Linked DNA regions of Homo sapiens: region 1 is linked to region 2. The links are contacts of gene promoters, found by promoter capture Hi-C in blood cells and fetal thymus (Javierre and others, 2016). All regions are on one chromosome and are shown on one strand. Each heading gives the region's core, a stretch centred on a gene start or on the middle of the fragment in contact. The rest is flanking DNA. Distances are from core to core; before and after follow the strand shown. Region 1 overlaps TTYH1 (tweety family member 1). Region 2 holds the start of LILRA6 (leukocyte immunoglobulin like receptor A6).

Region 1 (3,506 bases), core at 149-2,648, 200 kb before region 2:
GGACCCAGCGGCAATTTTAGGGCTTGCCTTGATGTTTCCCGTTCCTCAGGGATCACTTTCTTGGTAGAGTCTTGACCACTGTTGTTTTCTTGTATTTACTCTATTTTTGGGGGGTCAAGTCCAGTCTCTGTGACTCCATCCTGGTCGCAGTGGAAGCCCCCATAGGTAACATTCTAAAAATAACACTGGATTTTCCTTTTGTAAAGTTTGGGTAAAATGCCTTTTTTTTTTTTTTTTTTTTTTTTGAGACGGAGTCTTGCTCTGTCGCCCAGGCTGGAGTGCAGTGGCGCGATCTCGGCTCACTGCAAGCTCCGCATCCCGGGTTCAGGTGATTCTCCTGCCTCAGCCTCCTGAGTAGCTGGGATTGCAGGCGCCCGCCACCATGCCCGGCTAATTTTTGTGTTTAGTAGAGATGGGGTTTCACCGTGTTGGCCAGGCTGGTCTCAAACTCCTGACCTCAGGTGATCGCCTGCCCCAGCCTCCCACAGTGCTGGGATTACAGGCGTGAGCCAGGGTGCCCGGCCAACTTCTTGTTGAGAGATCACCCCCAGGCTCATTGGCATGGGAGATCAAGCAGCTGAGTCTCAAGGTACTTTGCAGCCGCCCAACAGCCAGCGGATGCCTGTGCTTGGGAAATGGGCTCAGGGGCACTAGAGGGCAGTGTTTGAGAGGAAAGAAGTCAGCATAGCAGCAGGGCCGGGCCTGGGGCAGACAGCCCACATGGTTAGGAAAAAGTGAGTGAACGCATGTGGCCCCCAGAACCCCTCCCTGAAATTGCAGTTGATTTTTATTCCCACCGTCAGGCCCACATATCTAAAGCTTCCTCTGAACGCTCCTTGCAGTACACAAAATAGAAATGATTGACAGGCACAGAGCAGCAGCAGGCCCCACGCTGTACACCAGCATCTGGCACTGTGGGTCACCAAGCACCAACTCGATCCCCTCGGAGCCAGGTGTGTGTTGAGATTCAGGATTTTTCAGTTGCAAAGGCAATATGATCTCTACTCCACAGGGCACACGGCACCCTCAGTGCTCAGCACAGCAGTGTGCAGCAGCCTGGTTAACTTTTCTGCAGGGAAGTATGTGAACGTTCACACCAAGCGTGTCAGTCATGTCTGTAAGTCATCTCCCACCAACACAGGTCAGGTTTTCCTGCCCAATGAGCTTGGGGATGGCTTGACTTTGGAGCTCTTTGGATCTGTGGATTTTGGAATTTTGGATTTCTGATACCCGTTTGATCAAAGAGGCAACCGAGGTCTAACGGGTCAAGTGACTTTCCCATATCCGTGAAGGTCATGAAAAGCAGGGCCAGGATGGTGGCCTGGGGTGCCTTGAATGATAAGCTGGGCCCTTCACTGTGCAGGCCCCTCTCCTTCAGTCCACTCTGCCACTGCTGTCTGCCACACCCTGCTCTGATAGCTCCTCTCTGCCAGGCTTTTCCCTCACATCCTCAACTCAGCCAAGAGCTGGTTTCTTCCAGAGAGCCCTGCTGTGCAGTCAGTTATTGGACTTCTCTTTTTGTGCATGTTTGTTTTCAGGGTTTAGCTGATCAAAGTGGTATCGTTGTAACAGGCAGCTCTAAATAGAAGTCTTCAGAAGCCTGTGTGTCTTTTTCTGTAAATCAATTCCCAAAAGCAGGATTGTTGGGGCATGGGGTGTATGCAGTTTTGATCTGATCACATACAAGCGCATTTTTTTTTTTTTTCAAGGGATGGTGGCAGCTCACAGCCTCAGGAGAAGTGTTTTGAGTGCCTGTTCCTCTAGGTCCTCGCCCGCCCAGGACATCACCACTCTTGTTAATTTCATTGTGTCTAGGTAGTGAAAAAGTGTAGTTTCTCATTCTTTCAAATTGCATTTCCCAATTATTAGAGTTTGAATCTTTTTGTCTGTTTACTGATGTTGGAATTTTTATTGAGTATTCAACTCAATTGATTACTTTTAAATGGGTTGTCTTTTTCTTAGTTTATGAAAGCTTTTGTAGATTATATCTTTTAAGAATAACATTTCTGCATCATAACTGTTAACATACACACACACACACACACACACACACACACACACACACGCACGCACACACTCACTGTTCCCCAGTCTGTCAATTTGCCATTTGACTTTACGGTATGTTTTTCAATCTATAATTTGCCAACTAAGCTATCTTTTCCTTTCTGGTTTTATGATCTCCTGCTTAAACTCCTCCCTCCCCATTTTCCCTACCCAGATACATGACATGCAGACAATATACAAATATTCTCCTAATTTCTCTGGTTTGTTTTGTTTTGTTTTGTTTTTTTCTGAGATGGAGTCTCACTTGATCTCCCAGGCTGGAGTACAGTGGTGCAACCTCCACCTCCCGGGTTCAAGCAATTCTCCTGCCTCAGCCTCCCGAGTAGCTGGGCTTACAGACCTGTGCCACCATGCCCAGCTAATTTTTTTTTTCTTTAAGTAGAGACGGGGTTTCACCATGTTGGCCACTCTGCTCTCAAACTCCTGGCCTCAAGGGATCCACCCACCTTGGCCTCTCAAAATGCTGGGATTACAGTCATGAGCCACCGCAGCCAGCCTCTCTCTGTTTTTTGTCTTTTTTTTTTTTTTTTTTTAAGAGGCAGGGTCTTGGCCGGGCGCGGTGGCTCACGCCTGTATTCCCAGCACTTTGGGAGGCCGAGACGGGCGGATCACGAGGTCAGGAGATCGAGACCATCTTGGCTAACACGGTGAAACCCCGTTTCTACTAAAAATACAAAAAATTAGCCGGACGTGTTGGCGGGCGCCTGTAGTCCCAGCTACTTGGGAGGCTGAGGCAGGAGAATGGCATGAACCTGGGAGGCGGAGCTTGCAGTGAGCCGAGATCGCGCCACTGCACTCCAACCTGGGTGACAGAGCGAGACTCCGTCTCAAAAACAAAAAAAAAAAAAAAAAAAGAGGCAGGGTCTTGCTCTGTTGCCCAGGCTGGAGTGCAGTGGCACGATCACAGCTCACTGCTACCTCGAAACGGGCTCAAGCAAGGAGTCTCAGCCTCCCGAGTAGCTGGAACCACAGGCATGCACCACCATGCCCACCCTCCTAATTTCTCTAGAAATTCTTCTGTGCCTTTACTTGCATACATCTAGATCTTCCACCCATCTTATCTATAGAAGTTTTTGGCCAGATGGAGAGCCGATATGTCACTACTGCTGCTAAACCAACCGTCCTTTCCACACTGACTTGAAATCTGTCTTCTGTCATGTGTGTATATATATATATACACACACACACACACACACACACAGTTAGATCTATTTCTAGGCCATCTATTCTGTGCCAGAGATGCCTGTGTCTTCCTGTGTCAGGACACGCGCATTACTTTTAGAATCAGAAGAAAGCGTTTTGTTTTTTGATTTTTTTTTTTTTTTTTTTAAAGAACAATGTCTTTGGACCCCTTGCTGAGCCTGGACAGGCGCAGAAATTCCTGGCAGCTGGGAGGCCGGGGGAGAGAGGACAGCAGGGAGGATGTCCCAGCCCTGGCCAGG
Region 2 (3,664 bases), core at 194-2,693:
CAGCCTCACCCAGAGCCCTGACCCCTCCCTGCCTGGGAGGACGTGGGGTTCCTCTTCTGTCCCACATGGAGGTGGGAGCCTCCTCCTCCCTAATGACGCTCGGTGGTCCCAGACACCTGTGGCCACTCAGCATTGAACTCTGCTCATGGAAGGGGATGCGTCTCAATGTGAGGAACTGTTCTTCCTCTTTCTCGGCCTGTGGCTGTGATGATCTGCATATTTCAGACGTATCACAAGAATTTCATGGTATTTGGAGCCAATGTGGGCTCTTGAATGGGGGCGTCAATCATCCTCCTCAACTGTGGAGCCCAGCACCAGGATCCTCTCCCGTCCCCACCCTCCTGTCTGAACTGGTCTGGAAATTCACCATGGCTGAGCCTCCCATGTCCTGGGCACCACTGACCCCCACAGCCACTGTGATGAGTGGGGTTCACGACAGCAGGCTCAGAGGTGACATTCATGTCCAAAGTCTCATAAACCCTAGATGATAATCAGGAATTAAATACAAATCAGCTCACCTTCCCCAGAATCAGATTATAGATTACAATGAAACATATATATATATATATATATATTTCTCTTTATCCCCTCTATTTCTCCTTTTCAGACAGGATCCTGCGCTGTCGCCCAGGCTGGAAGGCCAAGGGGTGATCATATCTCCCTGCAGCCTCCGCCTCCCGGGCCCAGGTGGTCCTCCCACCTCAGCCTCCTGAGTAGCTGGGACCACAGGCATGAGCCTCCATGCCCAGCTCACTTTTTTCTTTTCTGTAGAAACAGGGTCACAGTCTGTTTCCCAGGACTGTCTGAAGCTCCTGGCCTCAAGCCATCACCCGCCACAGCCTCCTGAAGTGCTGGGATTCCAGGCATGAGCCACCACGGTAGACGCTGCATTTCTCCTCTGTGCTCACTGCTACACGCAGCTCAGCCTGGACTACACAGCCAGGTGTCAGGTGCGTCTCTGCTGATCTGAGTCTGCCTGCAGCATGGACCTGGGTCTTCCCTGAAGCATCTCCAGGGCTGGAGAGACGACTGCCATGGTAAGGACCCCGTAACGCTGAGCTGATGGACGGGCTGAAGGAGGGAGGGAGACCCCATGGGGAGGCTCTGAGAGGGAGGATGAGCCCACAGTCACCCTCGCCTCAAAGGGGCTGACTCCAGAAGGCACTGGTTCTATTTGCTGCTGTGTCCTAGCTCTCAGTGAGATAAAGATAAATCAGGCAGACAGTGGCCCGGGGGCAGGGAGACCCCATTTCTCTCTGAAATGCCTGCAGAGAGCCTGGTGCCTGCCCCCACTTCAGCCCTGGGGAAATCAGAGCCAGGTTCCTGGGGTGGCAGTTCCTCTTCCTGTGGGCTGAGGATGAGACAACCCCATGACAAGAAGGACCCAGCCTCCGAGCGGCCACACCCTGTGTGTCTCTCTGTCCTGCCAGCACTGAGGGCTCATCCCTCTGCAGAGCCCGGGGTCACCAGGAGGAGACGCCATGACCCCCACCCTCGCAGCCCTGCTCTGCCTAGGTGAGATTTCAAGATGGGGAGGGGGAGATCTGAGTCTTGGAGGAACCCCACCCCACACACAAGCCCTGGTCCATCAGGAGACCTCAAAAGCTCAGGAGGCACCAGGGCGGGGAGGACCTGCTCAGGCTTCAGGGCAAATGCCTCACAGGGAATTCTCTTCCAGGGCTGAGTCTGGGCCCCAGGACCCACGTGCAGGCAGGTGAGTCTGTCCCCAGCTGTCCCAGGTCCCTCATCCTTACTAGGGACAAGGGCCACACATGGGCAGCTGGGGGAGGAGACAGCAGTTCTGGGTGGGGAGGAGACAGTAGTTCTGGGTGACTGATGGGGATGATGAGGAAGTCCTGGGGCTGGGAGCTGGGATCTGAGCGTGGGGATGTCTTGGGATCCAGCCTCTGATTTCCATCTAGGGCCCTTCCCCAAACCCACCCTCTGGGCTGAGCCAGGCTCTGTGATCAGCTGGGGGAGCCCCGTGACCATCTGGTGTCAGGGGAGCCTGGAGGCCCAGGAGTACCGACTGGATAAAGAGGGAAGCCCAGAGCCCTGGGACAGAAATAACCCACTGGAACCCAAGAACAAGGCCAGATTCTCCATCCCATCCATAACAGAGCACCATGCGGGGAGATACCGCTGCCACTATTACAGCTCTGCAGGCTGGTCAGAGCCCAGCGACCCCCTGGAGCTGGTGATGACAGGTGAGAGGACACTCTGGGGTCCCAGCCCCAGGCTCTGCCCTCAGGAAGGGGGTCGGCTCTCAGGGGTGTCTCCCTCTCACAGCCCAGCCCTGGGGATGATGTGGGAGGTGGGAGCCCCATTTAACATGGTGCCTCTTTCTCTCCTAGGAGCCTATAGCAAACCCACCCTCTCAGCCCTGCCCAGCCCTGTGGTGGCCTCAGGGGGGAATATGACCCTCCAATGTGGCTCACAGAAGGGATATCACCATTTTGTTCTGATGAAGGAAGGAGAACACCAGCTCCCCCGGACCCTGGACTCACAGCAGCTCCACAGTGGGGGGTTCCAGGCCCTGTTCCCTGTGGGCCCCGTGAACCCCAGCCACAGGTGGAGGTTCACATGCTATTACTATTATATGAACACCCCCCGGGTGTGGTCCCACCCCAGTGACCCCCTGGAGATTCTGCCCTCAGGTGAGGGAGCCACGGCCTTGTCTAACACACTTTCGGGGCAGCTGACAGGTTGTGGGGAGTTTGGCTGGTGACTGAATCTGGAAAGGACCCAGAGTGATGTGTTGAAGGACGGGCTGAAGGCATGAGGGAGACCCCATGGGGAGGCTCTGACATGGGAGGAGGAGCCCTCAGCCACGCTCACCTGAACGGGGAGGACTCAGGAAGGCATCGGTGTGTTTGCTGTGAGGTCCCAGCTCTCAGGGAGAGGAGGAAAGATCAGGCACAGTGGCCAGGGCTAGGGAGACCCCACTCCTCTGAAATGACTCCAAGACAGCCCCGGGTGAGAAGGAGGCCCTGGGGTCAGAGACTCAGAGCATGAGAGACAGTGAGACCTGCAGGGCCAGGACGGGAGAAGGAAGGGGCGTGGGAGGAACCAGCCCTCTCAGTCCTGGCTCCTCTTTCCCTCCAGGCGTGTCTAGGAAGCCCTCCCTCCTGACCCTGCAGGGCCCTGTCCTGGCCCCTGGGCAGAGCCTGACCCTCCAGTGTGGCTCTGATGTCGGCTACGACAGATTTGTTCTGTATAAGGAGGGGGAACGTGACTTCCTCCAGCGCCCTGGCCAGCAGCCCCAGGCTGGGCTCTCCCAGGCCAACTTCACCCTGGGCCCTGTGAGCCCCTCCCACGGGGGCCAGTACAGGTGCTATGGTGCACACAACCTCTCCTCCGAGTGGTCGGCCCCCAGCGACCCCCTGAACATCCTGATGGCAGGTGAGGAGCCCAGCGGGTTCAGTCAGGGACCCAGGCTCTGCACAGGCCCTGCCGGGGGAGCCCAGGTGGTGATGGCCGGGATGAGGGGTGGGGGTCCCAAGGGAGGGAGAGACAGACAGAGACAGGGGATGGGCGGGGAGGCGAGACTCAGAGAAAACAGAGACAGAGACACTGAGGGTCCCAGGGAGAGGCCTGGGGAGGTGTCAGCTCAGAGCAAGGTGGGGCAGCCCCTCACCCATCCTTCTTCTCTCCAGGACAGATC

The links. The method cuts DNA at HindIII sites, captures the fragments that hold promoters and counts their contacts. A CHiCAGO score of 5 or more calls a contact.
Region 1: a fragment that was not itself captured here is called in contact with the fragment with the promoter of LILRA6 in region 2 in 1 of 17 cell types (monocytes); the score reaches 6.0 in monocytes.

What each region holds. Positions count from the first base shown.
Region 1 is chr19:54,436,760-54,440,265 of GRCh38, reverse strand. It overlaps TTYH1 (tweety family member 1), which reads right to left. Exons shown (of 14, transcript NM_020659.4): 14 at 3,362-3,506. Among named protein-coding and RNA genes, the nearest start is that of LENG8-AS1, 11 kb to the left of the region's middle. The HindIII fragment of the contact is 1,153 bases long and covers 822-1,974 here.
Region 2 is chr19:54,240,569-54,244,232 of GRCh38, reverse strand. LILRA6 (leukocyte immunoglobulin like receptor A6) reads left to right here and starts at 1,443. Exons shown (of 8, transcript NM_024318.5): 1 at 1,443-1,515; 2 at 1,679-1,714; 3 at 1,923-2,207; 4 at 2,355-2,657; 5 at 3,106-3,402; 6 at 3,657-3,664. The coding sequence starts at 1,482. LOC107987463 (a long non-coding RNA gene) reads left to right here. Exons shown (of 3, transcript XR_007067341.1): 3 at 772-840. RefSeq lists an enhancer at 1-368. The HindIII fragment of the contact is 25,461 bases long and covers 1-3,664 here.